4 separate regions of the Homo sapiens genome follow, and all the other regions are linked to region 3. Evidence: promoter capture Hi-C in human tissues and cell types (Jung and others, 2019). All regions are on one chromosome and are shown on one strand. The core of a region is centred on a gene start or on the middle of the fragment in contact, and the rest is flanking DNA. Distances in the headings are between cores, read along the strand shown.

Region 1 (3,171 bases), core at 400-2,899, 340 kb before region 3:
AATGTTTAAAATCATGCATCTGAAAGTGCTTATAACACATCACATACGCATAGTAAGTGGTCTTGATTTTAATGAGTTCGTCATTAGAACTCAGCCTGCATGAAAAGATTCCTCTTTGATTGTCAGGGGATGGAGGTGGCATTTTAGGCAGCTCTGGCAATGCTGCTGACTGACTTACAAAGAAAGGGGCAGGACCTATGGAAGGAAATGAATTTCACCATCCTCACTGCAGCTCTTGCGTAAGATACAAATCAATTAATTCATCACATTCTTATCCCATTCAGCATCTCGCCATCAGGAGGCCCCTGCCCAGCTCTTCGGAATTCCTCCTCTGATTCAGCTGTGGCTTCTCTAGTTGGCCGGGGCCCAGCCCTCGCCCTGGTGAAGTTCAAGAGCTACATAAGCTGCCTGGCCTTGGATGTTCTTCTGAGAGTTTGGAAGGAACCCTCAGTCAGTTTCTGACAAGTTATTGGCAAAAGGAGATGAAACGCTTGCCAATTTGCTTCAGGCACCGAGCATGTTAACAGGTATTACACCAGGTGTTATTAATACGTTACTTACAACAAACCCAGTTTTCAACCTATTGTTTGGGTTATATAGAGTTATGGATTTTATACTTTACAAAGTACTGTATTTTTTCTAACTGACAAAACTTGGAATGTGTGTTGAAGAATTCAGTCCTCAAATGTGAGATGTATTTATTACAAATGAGTCTTATTTCAGAATCAGTTTGTGGGTTAAATGACCAATACCATTTCTTCAAATCAATCACTTGCTAAAGCCAAAGACTGGGACAGGTGTCACTCCCAGGGCTCAGCCAGTCAAGCTTACAGGAATGAGGTCAGTGCCCTGATGAAATGGCTTTCTTTTTCCTCTAAGGAAAGTCGACAGCTTTCACCCAAAGAAATTTCAGAGCTGGAAGGAATAGCTTTGAATGCTGTACACTTGGGGGCTTAGACAATGAATATGTAAGACACAGTAGTCCTAAAACCTTCCACCGTTCTTAGCAAGCACAGGGACTGTCTGCAATCTCATTGATGATGTGTAGCTATCCAGCCTAAAACAAAGTGCGCATTGGAAGTCAGAGAACAGGCAGGAAGGAAACGCTTCCACTCAGCCCAACCCTCAGCAAATTCCTAGAAGGGGGAGAATGTCTCCCTTAGGAAAGTGACCGTTTGATACATTCCCCACTGTGTACCTCGCACCCATGATTGCTTTAGCACTTTACCAGCCATCAGACCTACCAGCCTGAATACCACAAGCACAAACCGAACCAAACAAAACAAGGCCTCTGTCCAGCTCTATGGCCCTCCAGGCCCAGGACAGCAATTGGCTAACGGAGTGCCATGCGCACTACTGAGCTATTTCCAGACAACGTGATTTCTGAAGAAATGCTGCTCACTTTGCCTCTCTGTCCCCCTCAAATTACTTTAAAGTGGAGGTCTAGAATATATGTAAGTGGAAACTTTTTGGCTTACTCAAATTATACTCTATAAAGTTGTCTATTTATCTATGGGCTAGGGTTCCGAGCTGTGTGTCCTCAGCCAAGTTTACGTGTCCCGGAATAATAAAATCAGATAATAATCTCTACCTCACTTCCGATAGACTATGGCAGTGCAGGTTAGCTATGAATTAGGGACTCCACCCTTATTCGGCTTTGCCCCTAGACTCACCATGTAGCCTTGGCTAAATCACCTGCGTATCTGGGCTGATTTATTCAACCTCTTCAGACTATCATTATGTTGGATTAACCTAGGTTAATCCTAGAAAGGGTTTCCAGGAAAGGAAACCACAAACACACACAGACACACACACACACACATCACTATTATTCTAGTGTTCTCTTAACATTTTTAATATGAGTCAACGCTAAGGACATTGAGAATTGTCCTGAGTTTGAAGCTCCCATACATCTTTCTCTTTGGGCGAAGGTAACATGAGCTGCTTGACATCACTGAAATAAAAGAGATTTGGTCTAGATAAAAACTGATTTTAAAAAAAAAGGCAATCCAAGTTGTTCCTTCAGGAGTCACACTAGTCTGGCAACCGGTTGCCTCATGAATGTAACTGTGTCTGCTTTTCTTAAAGAACACTTGCCAATTTTCCTCTTCCCATCTAACACATGCACAAAAAAACTTCCCATTTTCCTCACCAGTTCCTTGACTGCATTTACTATCTGATGCAAGAAGAATGTGAACCCGTCCAAGAAACACAGGTAGGGAAGAGAGAGGAGTGAGAGACTAGCCTCGTTGCCTCCTCTTTTCCCCAGTACCTCTCAGATTCTGTACCTGGAAGGACAAACCCAGGAGGGCAGTGGGTGGAAACTGGCCTTTCTTGCAGGCAGCCTGGAAGAGCAGATGTTGAATTATTGAAAGTTCCTGGCTAAAAGAAGTGAAATATTAATGACCATATTATGGAGAGGAAGAAAACTTGACAATCCACACAGATTTGAACTATCTTTTCAGGAAGAAAGCTCAGTATACATGATTGAGTGCCCTCTGACACAGCTTGGAAGAAATGATCCCTTTGCTTATATGCACGCTCTGATTGCCAACTGCTGGGCTCTCTCCCGCCCCTCACTTCTGCTGGTTGCTGTGGATAAACAGTTTTCAGCTATGTTCATAAGCTCTATTTTCAGCATGTTCTTCCTTAACCCAGCTGCCTCTCCAGTGAAGATGTTTGCTGGCGGAGTCAATGATAACATTCCACTAGCTTCTAATTAAACACACGGAGCCAAGACTGATAAACTTCACATCCAGGCTGACTTATCACCTGAGTTGCCCCTGAGGTCTCTGATTCAATTTCCAGCTTCTCTGACCACACTAAAGCAAATTGGGTTAAAAATATTAGAATATAAAGTGTGACAGCCCAGGCTCTCATCTCACTTACCTCGTCCTGCTCCCAGAAGGAAGACTTCTACACAGAAAGGAGATATGCAGGGAAATGGAACAAGATGGCAATTTGATGGATAATAATAAATGATGTTTGAATGTTGAAAAATCAACTGCAAGTTACATATGGAGTTTGAGATGAATGATAATATGATAGAATAAATCTCAGCACTTTGGGAGGCCAAGGCAGGCAGATCACGAGGTCAGGAGTTTGAGACCAGCCTGGCCAACAAGGTGAAACCCTGTCTCTACTAAAGATATAAAAATTAGCTGGGTGTGG
Region 2 (3,039 bases), core at 409-2,908, 420 kb before region 3:
GTTTTCTCACCTGTAAACTGAGAGGTTTGGATTAGATCATTTTAAAAATCATTTTCAAAGACAAACTTTGAAAAGTCGATGGTGAAGCATAAAATTTTACCTTAAATTTAGATATGAATCATAACATAAATGATGCTGAGAAGCAAAAATGAATCTCCCAAAGTATATAAGTGAAATGACAGTAGCTCTTATCAGTAATAAGGGACTGTGCCTTGTGGCTAAGGTAGCCCCTTAAGCTATAAAGATGTGAGAAATGGCATTTTATCAACAAGGTATCCAACAAGGCATTCATTTAGAGAGAAGGAAAAAAATCCCAATTTCCAAATCCCAGGCTTCCACTTAGGAGAGGCTGGAGGGAAGTGATACACACAAACCCCTCCTGTCTAAACAATGTGCCAGACAGAAAAAGGCCAGAGGTGATTCGTGTGGAAATGGGTTTTTACAGGAGCTGCAATAAAGAACCCCCTTTCCCAAGCCCTACTGAAATGAAATGCTAGCTATATAATCAATGTCATGAAGCAGAAAAGGCCTGGGGAACACCAGGGAAACCTATCTACTGGCCAGGCACACGGAGTGCAGGTCCAGAGCTGGTGAGCAGGCTCTCTCACCAGGACGTGTGACAATCATCTCCTGCTGTGTAGCTTGGGGCCCCCTCCCACTGGGCTGTCACGCTGACAGAGGCTGACCTCACAGGTCTTCTTGGAGGGTCTCAGCATTGGTATTCATCCCTGAAAAATTCACTACACCTCCACAAACACAACTGATAGCAAATATGATTACAGGGAGTTCTGGGGGAGCTGAGGAGACAGGAGACGTGTTATGAAAGGGAAAATAAAACTCCCAAACCACCAACAATGACACTTCACGTATAGATGGCTGCCCAGTGGAATGGGAACGCTGCGTCCCGGTAACTCTGGAGTCTATGTTCAAGGAAGATCTAGATAATTTAGAAATATCAGTCTGGGCTCATGAGGATCACCTGCGCTTGTGATCCTCTGAGGCTTAATTGTTATATTTCATTCTTACAGTTTTCAGATTGGGAGAAAATGGGGCACTCAAGAGCCATTTGGACTTTTCAAAGGTCAGGGTCTGAAGAGCCTGATGCTTAGACACTGATAGGGACCCTGACTCTAAAAACCTTTGCAGGAGTGGAGGTGCAGGCATGGTGGGTGGGAGGTGTGATCTCTGGCTTAGACACCAGCATGAAACACCCCCGGGAAGCATCAGGAAATGTCTTAAGTAAATGCCAGGAAGGGGAGGAGGCAAATGAGAGAGTTCAGGCCACAGTTGCCTCATTTTCATAGTTCAAGAAGTCATTCATGAAGAATGTCACACACACACACAAAACAGATAGAAAAGGTAGCCTCTGCCAAGGTCTCCTTTCCTCGTATGGACATTTATGATATTATGATATTGACAGCACTAATAATATTGTGGATTTTAAATCTTCATTTCCCCAACATTCTCACCCACATGGTAATTTGGGTGATTTAGACAAGCCACTCTCTGAGGGGAAAGTTGGAGAATGCAGAAGTTAGTGCAGTCAGCAACTCCAGCAACCTGACATATCTAAGAGTTGGAATATCGAAGGAAAATCTAAAAACAGGTCAGTGAGTGAAATCTGACCTCTACCTAGCCATGAATAGATGATTGTTTTTATTTTTCTACATTTTTTTTTTGAGATGGAGTCCCACACTGTTGCCCAGGCTGGAGTATAGTGGCACGATCTCAGCTTACTGCAACCTCTGCCTCCCGGGTTCAAACAATTCTCCTGCCTCAGCCTCCCGAGTAGCTGAGACTACAGGTGTGCACCACTATGCCTGGCTAATTTTTGTATTTTTAGTAGAGATGAGGTTTCACCATGTTGACCAGGCTGGTCTCGAACTCCTGACATCAGGTGATCCACTCGCCTCTGCCTCCCAAAGTGCTGGGATTACAGGCGTGAGCCACCGCCCCCAGCCTACCTTTTTCTTTGAAAAAGATATAAAAGGCCAGGCGCGGTGGCTTGAGCCTGTAATCCCAGTACTTTGGGAGGCCGAGGCGGGTGGATCACAAGGTCAGGAGATGGAGACCATCTTGGCTAACATGGTGAAACCCCGTCTCTACTAAAAATACAAAAAAATTAGCCGGGTGTGGTGGCGGGCGCCTGTAGTCCCAGCTACTCGGGAGGCTGAGGCAGGAGAATGGCGTGAACCCGGGAGGTGGAGCTTGCAGTGAGCCGAGATCGCGCCACTGGCGCTCCAGCCTGGGCAACAGAGCAAGACTCTGTCTCAAAAAAAAAAAAAAAAAGAAAAAAAAAAGAAAAAGATATAAAAAAGACAATCTTCCCTAAAGAGCACAATTCCTATTTTCACCATTCTTTGAAAAGGAAGATGGTGATGTGCAGGGCATACTTGGGGCAACAGAGAAGCCACCCTGACTCCCCGTCACACCCACGATGTTAGTCACAACGTTAGGCAGTGCCTTGCCTGGCCTTTGCAACCAGGAGACTCAGGCAAGAGCAGCAGTCAACGGCCCTGCCATGGACTTGAGGGGCAGAAGGTGGACTCCAACACAGCCTGAACTCCAGAACCTTCCAGGGGAGACACCGGCCCTGGAGCAACCAGCCTGTTCATGGCTCAGCCAGCCTGGCCACACCTTCCTGCTCTCAGATCATCTTGCCTGGCTCAGTCCTTTGCTTCTTGGGCACTTATTCAAATTAAATGGTCTCGGTCAGGCATGGTGGCTCACACCTGTAATCCCAGCACTTTGGGAGGTCGAGGCGGGCAGACCACCTGAGGTCAGGAGTTCGAGACCAGTCTGGCCAACAAGGTGAAACCCCATCTCTACCAAAAATACAAAAATTAGCCTGGCATGGTGGCACATGCCTGTAATCCCAGCTACTCGGGAGGCTGAGGCTCAAGAATCGCTTGAACCCGGGAGGTGGAGTTTGCAGTGAGCCGAGATCACGCCACTCACTCCAGCCTGGACAACAGAGCGAGACTCCATCTCAAAAACAAATTAAATGGTCTCTAGGAACTACTGAGGTTGGATCTGAAA
Region 3 (3,037 bases), core at 67-2,566:
GCGAGCAGACTTCATTCACCTGCGGGGAAGACACGCCGGTGTCAGGGGCTGCAAGGCGGCGGGCTGCAGCGCCCAGGAGCTGGGTCATACGTGCGCCACCAAGTACCCGCTCGAACCGCCCACGGGAGTCGGTTGGGGACCTCTCCAAGCCCTGCGGCCAAATTGCCCTCCGTCTGTCTCGTTAATTGTCCTTAAGTGAGTCCCCACCGCCCAGGTGACCCCTGCGCTGGTCCCCGGTGGCCTCCTCCTGGGGTCAGGAAGGGGACTCGCTCGGGGCCGTTTCCACGGCTTCTGCAAGGCGGGGGGGATCCATAGGTTCAGCGCCCCACGCTTTTGAAGCCGGCACCTATCCCAGCAAGATCCCGGGAACAAAATCCTGGAAGACCCTATGGGGGGGGTAGGGGGAGGGCTGTGATTTCAGGATTTTTATTCATACGGGGTCCAACTCTCCGGATCCTGCAGGTAAACGAGAGGCTCTCACGGCTCCAGCTAAACGATCCGAGGTACTGCCCAGCATTCATGGGAAACCCTCCCCTTCGGCTTCACTCTGCCTAGAAGTGCAGGAATGCGGCAAAAGTTACGGGTGCGTGGAAAGGAAGGAACGAGAGGGCTGAAAAAATTCCGAGAGCGAGGCGAGCGTGCGGGCGTCCCCGCGGCCGACCCGCCTCCGCGCACTCACAACCCCGCCAGCCCCGGGGGCGCCTCTGCAGCGGGGGAGAGCTCGGGGCCGGGGCCGCACGATCCCGGGGAAAGGGGGACCTCCGCCGAGATGGGTCTGGTAACGCGTCTCCGCGTCGTACCGTCACAACTTACCCCGTATTTCTTGCCCCTGGTGGAGACCGCAAGCCTCTCTTTATTCCCAGCTACCGAATTCATGGTGGCTTTTCCAGAGGAGAGTATCTAAAGGTTCCACCGACGCTACATCCAGAAGGTCCTCCAACCCAGAAGCGTCCCCCGGCTGCAGGGGGCTGGCTCTCAGCCCTCAGGGCAAGGTTTCTTCAGCGGTGGGGTGGGAGGGAATGAAAGCAAATGGATCCCACAAGTAATAGCACCAATTTGCAGAAAGGGTTGGGGTCGCTGGTTTATTCTTCTCTTCAAAGCATGCTTTTCCTCGTCCCCTTCTGCCTCTTCCAGCCGCACGTCCTCTTGTCACGGCCACATCCACAGAACTGGCATTTTCTTCAGCCAAGTCAGTCCGTGCTCCCCCACGAGGAAAGCGAGGGATACAATCAGGGCTCGCGGCCGCTGCCGGGAAGGTGGGAGAGCCGAGCCGAGTCAGCTGTGGGAACTTGTCTCCTTCACCGAGCTTGGTAACTGAGTTCAAAGAAATTCTCCCAAAATATAAAGATCCAGACTCGGGGAGGAGCCTCGGCGTGTCGCCGAGCCAATATCCGCCGGCCCGTTTCGCCTGACAGTTGCGCGAGGGCCGGGAGAGGGGCGGCTCCGCGTGGCCCGGGAGCGGTCGGCGGTCACAGCGCGCGTGTGCGCCCGGGCGCAGCGCGGAGGAGCCTCGGGAACCTGCCGCCCTCGCCGCGCCGGCCGGGATCCATTTTATGTGGCGGCGCTCGTGCCTGACATTGCGAGGCCTGGAGCCGGGCTGGGGCTGGGGGCGGGGGATCGTCGATCTCGCCGCGTGCGGGGAAGTTCCTGGCGCGCGGCCCGGGCCCGGGGCTCTAATGAAACGCCGCTGCGCGAGCCTGGAGCCCGGGGGCCGCGCGAGCGAGCGTGGCTGGACGGAAATGCGGTGCCCCAGCCTCCCCCGCCCCCAAGTTCTTTCTCTTCCTGACAAGGCTTGCAGGTCTGTCTGTGAAACGCCGTGCAAAAGGGATTGAGTCACAAACAAGTCCACAAACATGCCGGGTCCTCCCCCCGCCCTTTGTTCTCGGAGAGCTGCCGGGCAAACCTTTTCTGGAATTGCCCTACCGACCCCGGGCCGGCCGGGGGGCCACCCTCCCCGACCGCAGCCGCAGGACTAGGGCCCTTGGTCCCCCGCCCGCCCGAGCCCCGGTCTGTGATGGACTAAGCCGCCCGGGGCTGGGACAGGTGAGCCTGGTGACCCAGCGGGCCGCTGCCGGGCAGGGGAAACTGAGGGCTTCGCCGCGCTGCACGCGGACGACTCTGGCCTGGAGAGGGGGTGTGGCGCGAGCTGGCCTTGGCCTCTCCTTGCGTGGGATCGGGCCCCTCGCCCCCCGCCGCCCGTTTCTTCCTGCGCCTGGGCCCCGCGGGGTCTCCGGAGCACCCCGTCATCGCTCCCTCTCCGATCGCCCCCCGCCCCAGTCCCCCGGCGCAGCGCCCAGGAGCGCAGGAAGCCGGCGTATGCCAGGCTCCACACGTGGCTGCTCTGGGGTGTCATTTTTCATTTCACGGGAGGACATTTCTTCTGGTGAGCCAGCAGGTCTGTTTTGTTGTGACCTTTAATTAACACCCCGCGAGACGCCTCTGGAAGGACTGGCCGGGCGCAGGGATCACGTGGGGTGTAACGGCATCTCCGCGCCCGCGGGGAGACCCAGCCCGGGGGTGGGCGAGGGCGCGAAGGACGTTCAGGGCTTTCTGGTCGCTGACTTCCTTCTGAGCTGTGGACGACGCAGGAGGGGGCAAGAAGACAAAGGTTCGGGGTTCTGGAAGCCTGGGGCCACGCCCCCACTCTGCCTTCCTCGGGGACAATTTCTTCTGTGCCTCCCGTGCTCTGCCCCACTCCTCCCCGCTCCAGCTCCTGCGCGGGAATATTTCACAGCCACCAAAGCGAGGTAAAAAGGTCAAAAGGAAGATGGCAAGAACAGAGTGGACGTTTCCGTTACGTTCCCACTTCCAATTTAAAAGCGATCCTATCAATAGGGGACCTTAGGGGGCAGGTACACCTCCAGGCAGCACGCGCCAGCTCCCACCCGCATCTGTATTTCGCGTAGGTGCCGCGAAACACATCATCGCCATTGGCCACGAGCCGCTTATCAGCCAAAAAGCAGCGTGTGGTGAAACGAGCCGGCGAGGCCGCGGGTGGGGAAGGTGGGGTGTCGAGGGGGAGTGTTGGGGAGCTGCG
Region 4 (3,144 bases), core at 522-3,021, 510 kb before region 3:
GCTGTTAGCTGTGTCTGGGTTACCACCCCCAGGCTATCCTTATACTGATGCTGCACAGGTACAAAGGTCTCCAGAGCAAAAATGTTTGATCCCAACGGGATATTTGAGTTAAAAGGGCGGATAACCCTTTTAACTTGTCCGTACCATTTGGTACGGACAAGTTAAATACCTCTGGCATGTAAAAAAGGTGTTTCAAAAAGGGCCACAAGCGTCATCTCTGCTTGCCGAGGAAGCAGCCGCCTATGTGTTAGCCTTTGGGAGGTCTTGTTACAAAGCCTAAACCTGTCCCATCCTCATTCCTTTGCAGTAACACACAGAAAGCCTTATTCAAACAAATAAGCTACCTCCGATTGTTCATTCAACAAGCATGTATTAAGAACCTAGGGTACAGGAACCCCTCCAAGGGCTTTAATTCGGCTGACCAGTTGCTCACTTGCCTAGAAGTCTCAGTGTATGCCTATCACCCTGCATCCTGTCTGGTTTATTTTGTCCTGGATTTTTCATTTCTTTATTCAAAATACAAGTAGTTATTACTAAGACTTATTAAAATGAGATGGAAGAATTGGATAGACTTTCACTTTCTATTTCAGTGGTCTCATCTAGGAACATATGAGGTTATGTGCAGTGAACAGAGTTAGCACTTTAAGACATAATGTCAGGAGTTCAAGACCAGCCTGGCCAATATGGTGAAACCCCATCTATACTAAAAACAAAAAAAATTAGCCAAGTGTGGTGGCACCTGCCTGTAATCCCAGCCACTTGGGAGGCTGAGGGAGGAGAATTGCTTAAACCCAGGAGGCAGAGGTGCAGTGAGCTGAGATTGCACCACTGCACTCCAGCCTGGGCGACAGAGAGAGACTCCGTCTCAAAAAAAAAAAAAAAAAAAAGGACATAATGTTCCAGCCAGGAGCAGTGGCTCATGCCTGTAATGCCAGGACTTTGGGAGGCTGACCGCGGGTGGATCACTGGAGGTCAGGAGTTTGAGACCAGCCTGGGCAACATGGTGAAACCCCAGCTCTACCAAAAATACAAAAATTAGCTGGGCATGGTGGTGCGTGCCTGTAGTCCCAGCTACTTGGGAGGCTGAGGCAGGAGGATCACTTGAACTCGGGAAGCGGAGGTTGCAGTCCTGGGTGATGGAGAAAGACTCAGTCTCAAAAAAAATAAAAAATAAAAAAAAGATATAATGTTCCAAGCTGAGAAACTTATTATGCTGAAATGTACCTGTAATTGATGTACCTATGTAATTCATAACTGAGCTCAAACACAGTTCTAATTCTACCCAGAGAAGCACAAGCTATAGTTTTTGAAATGTGTAAAATTTACATAAACTGAGAGTAACTGAACTACAAAAATTTTTTATGAAGTTTAAATTGGATTAAAAACATTTCATCAGTAGAGTGTGCGGTTCTCTCTTTGCTGCCTGTCAAGTTGGATTTGAGAAATATTTGACACTTGAAATAATGAAATGATAGGAAATTGCTGACATTAGGCAGCTTTTAACTTTAAAACATACTTCATGAGTCAATCCAAATGCTCTACAAAAAAAGTACTCCAGTTTTGGAAACAAGTCATCTAAATTTTGATGGCTTGTGGTTCAAAATAAGTTGTAATCCATAATCAAGTGTTCAACCAATGAAACACAAAAAGCTCAGCCTCTGAAGCCTGTAATGAATTGCAATGATTAAAAACAAAATTTGCAAACAGGGGACCCTGAAATATAGATGACAAGAGCTCAAACTGTATAGAAGATTAAAATGTGAAATTCTACAAGTATGCTCTGGAAATTGACTTGTGGGAAGATCCTTTGAAACTTTAACACACAATATTCTCACTGAATTGAGAAATGTATTTCACTGAAATAAACTTGTAATTGGTGGTTGTATGAATAAATTCACACTTATTTTTAAACAAACTGTGATATTCTATCAAGAGAAACAGAAGCCACAGTTATCAAAAACAGATGGTTTGATGTGTTAATGCACATAAACATATATGTAAATATATAGGTAAGGCAGTTGGATTATGTGAAGGAGAAAAACGCCCTGACATTAACAATAGAAAAAATAGTGTTAAGAAAAATACTACTGAAGTGGTATTAGAAGATAGTGAAGACAATGATTAAAATACACAAAAGTATATTAAGTGATTATTCTGCTTATTTTTTAATGTCCAGATAAACAATATAAAGCAGTTTTAACCTTTTTCTACTTTGATGTATTTTCTTTTATTAAGAAAGCATTTCATGTTTGAAAGTAATTTTTGAATAGAACTGTTTTATAGGTTCACCAATATAGACGGCTGTGTCAGAAAATATTTCAAAACATGAAATAATAATAATTAAGTGTCCCTTTTCACTCTCAAAAGTGGCTTCGATAATAAGTTATATGATCTCCTTACTTATTTAAAAGAAGGAGAGGTGTGTAACAGGAGAAAAAAAAAAGCAAAGGAGCAATATGATAGGCTGGGTTCCTAGGAAAACCTTCTTACCAAGTACAGTTAAATGTTGTGGATTTTTTTTTTTTTTGAGATGGAGTTTCACTCTTGTTGCCAAGGCTGGAGTGCAATGGCGTGATCTCGGCTCACTGCAACCTCCACCTCCCGGGTTCAAGCGATTCTCCTGCCTCAGTTGCTGGGATTACAGGCGCCCGCCACCATGCCCGGCTAATGTTGTATTTTTACTCGAGACAGGGTTTCTCCATGTTGGTCAGGCTGGTCTTGAACTCCCGACCTCAGGTGATCTGCCTGCCTCGGCCTCCTAAAATGCTGGGATTACAGGCGTGAGCCACCATGCCCGGCCGTGGATATTATTTTTAAGTCTTAGTAAATGCATTGTTGAACCTGCAAAAAGGTAAAGAATCCTCAGGCCAAAAAAAAGCAAGTGAAGTTGGGAACTCAAGATAAATAAGCAGAACAGGCAAGCTTTCTTTCACCCCAAAGACATCTGCCCAGCCAGGTAACACCCTGCTGAGTTTTATGTGGCAGCAGTCAAAGCTGGAGGCCTGCTCCACATGTGAATTTTCACAGGAAAATCAACCCCCAATAATTGTCCCTTGTAGGTATTCAAGACATGACTGTCTTGAAATAAGCACTGAGCAGAGGGGAAAGAAACTGTCCTGAGAATTGCGAACCCTGGTCTGAATT

The links. Contacts are between HindIII fragments. The study calls those that stand out against the background at their distance.
Region 1: a fragment that was not itself captured here is called in contact with the fragment with the promoter of KIF26B in region 3 in 1 of the 25 tissues and cell types used here (lymphoblastoid cells).
Region 2: a fragment that was not itself captured here is called in contact with the fragment with the promoter of KIF26B in region 3 in 1 of the 25 tissues and cell types used here (bladder).
Region 4: a contact is called between a fragment that was not itself captured here and the fragment with the promoter of KIF26B in region 3, in 1 of the 25 tissues and cell types used here (heart right ventricle).

What each region holds. Positions count from the first base shown.
Region 1 is chr1:245,497,897-245,501,067 of GRCh38, reverse strand. All of the region lies in intron 4 of KIF26B (kinesin family member 26B), which reads right to left. Among named protein-coding and RNA genes, the nearest start is that of KIF26B-AS1, 260 kb to the right of the region's middle. The HindIII fragment of the contact is 4,253 bases long and covers 1-3,171 here.
Region 2 is chr1:245,574,115-245,577,153 of GRCh38, reverse strand. All of the region lies in intron 5 of KIF26B (kinesin family member 26B), which reads right to left. Among named protein-coding and RNA genes, the nearest start is that of KIF26B-AS1, 340 kb to the right of the region's middle. The HindIII fragment of the contact is 4,893 bases long and covers 1-3,039 here.
Region 3 is chr1:245,153,264-245,156,300 of GRCh38, reverse strand. KIF26B (kinesin family member 26B) reads right to left here and starts at 1,316. Exons shown (of 15, transcript NM_018012.4): 1 at 814-1,316; 2 at 1-19. The coding sequence starts at 876. RefSeq lists a silencer at 1,775-1,974 and enhancers at 1,829-2,504, 2,505-3,037. The HindIII fragment of the contact is 11,465 bases long and covers 1-3,037 here.
Region 4 is chr1:245,663,743-245,666,886 of GRCh38, reverse strand. The region is part of intron 10 of KIF26B (kinesin family member 26B); the gene reads right to left. It overlaps LOC105373265 (a long non-coding RNA gene), which reads left to right. Exons shown (of 6, transcript XR_007066988.1): 6 at 1-724. Among named protein-coding and RNA genes, the nearest start is that of KIF26B-AS1, 430 kb to the right of the region's middle. The HindIII fragment of the contact is 6,064 bases long and covers 1-3,144 here.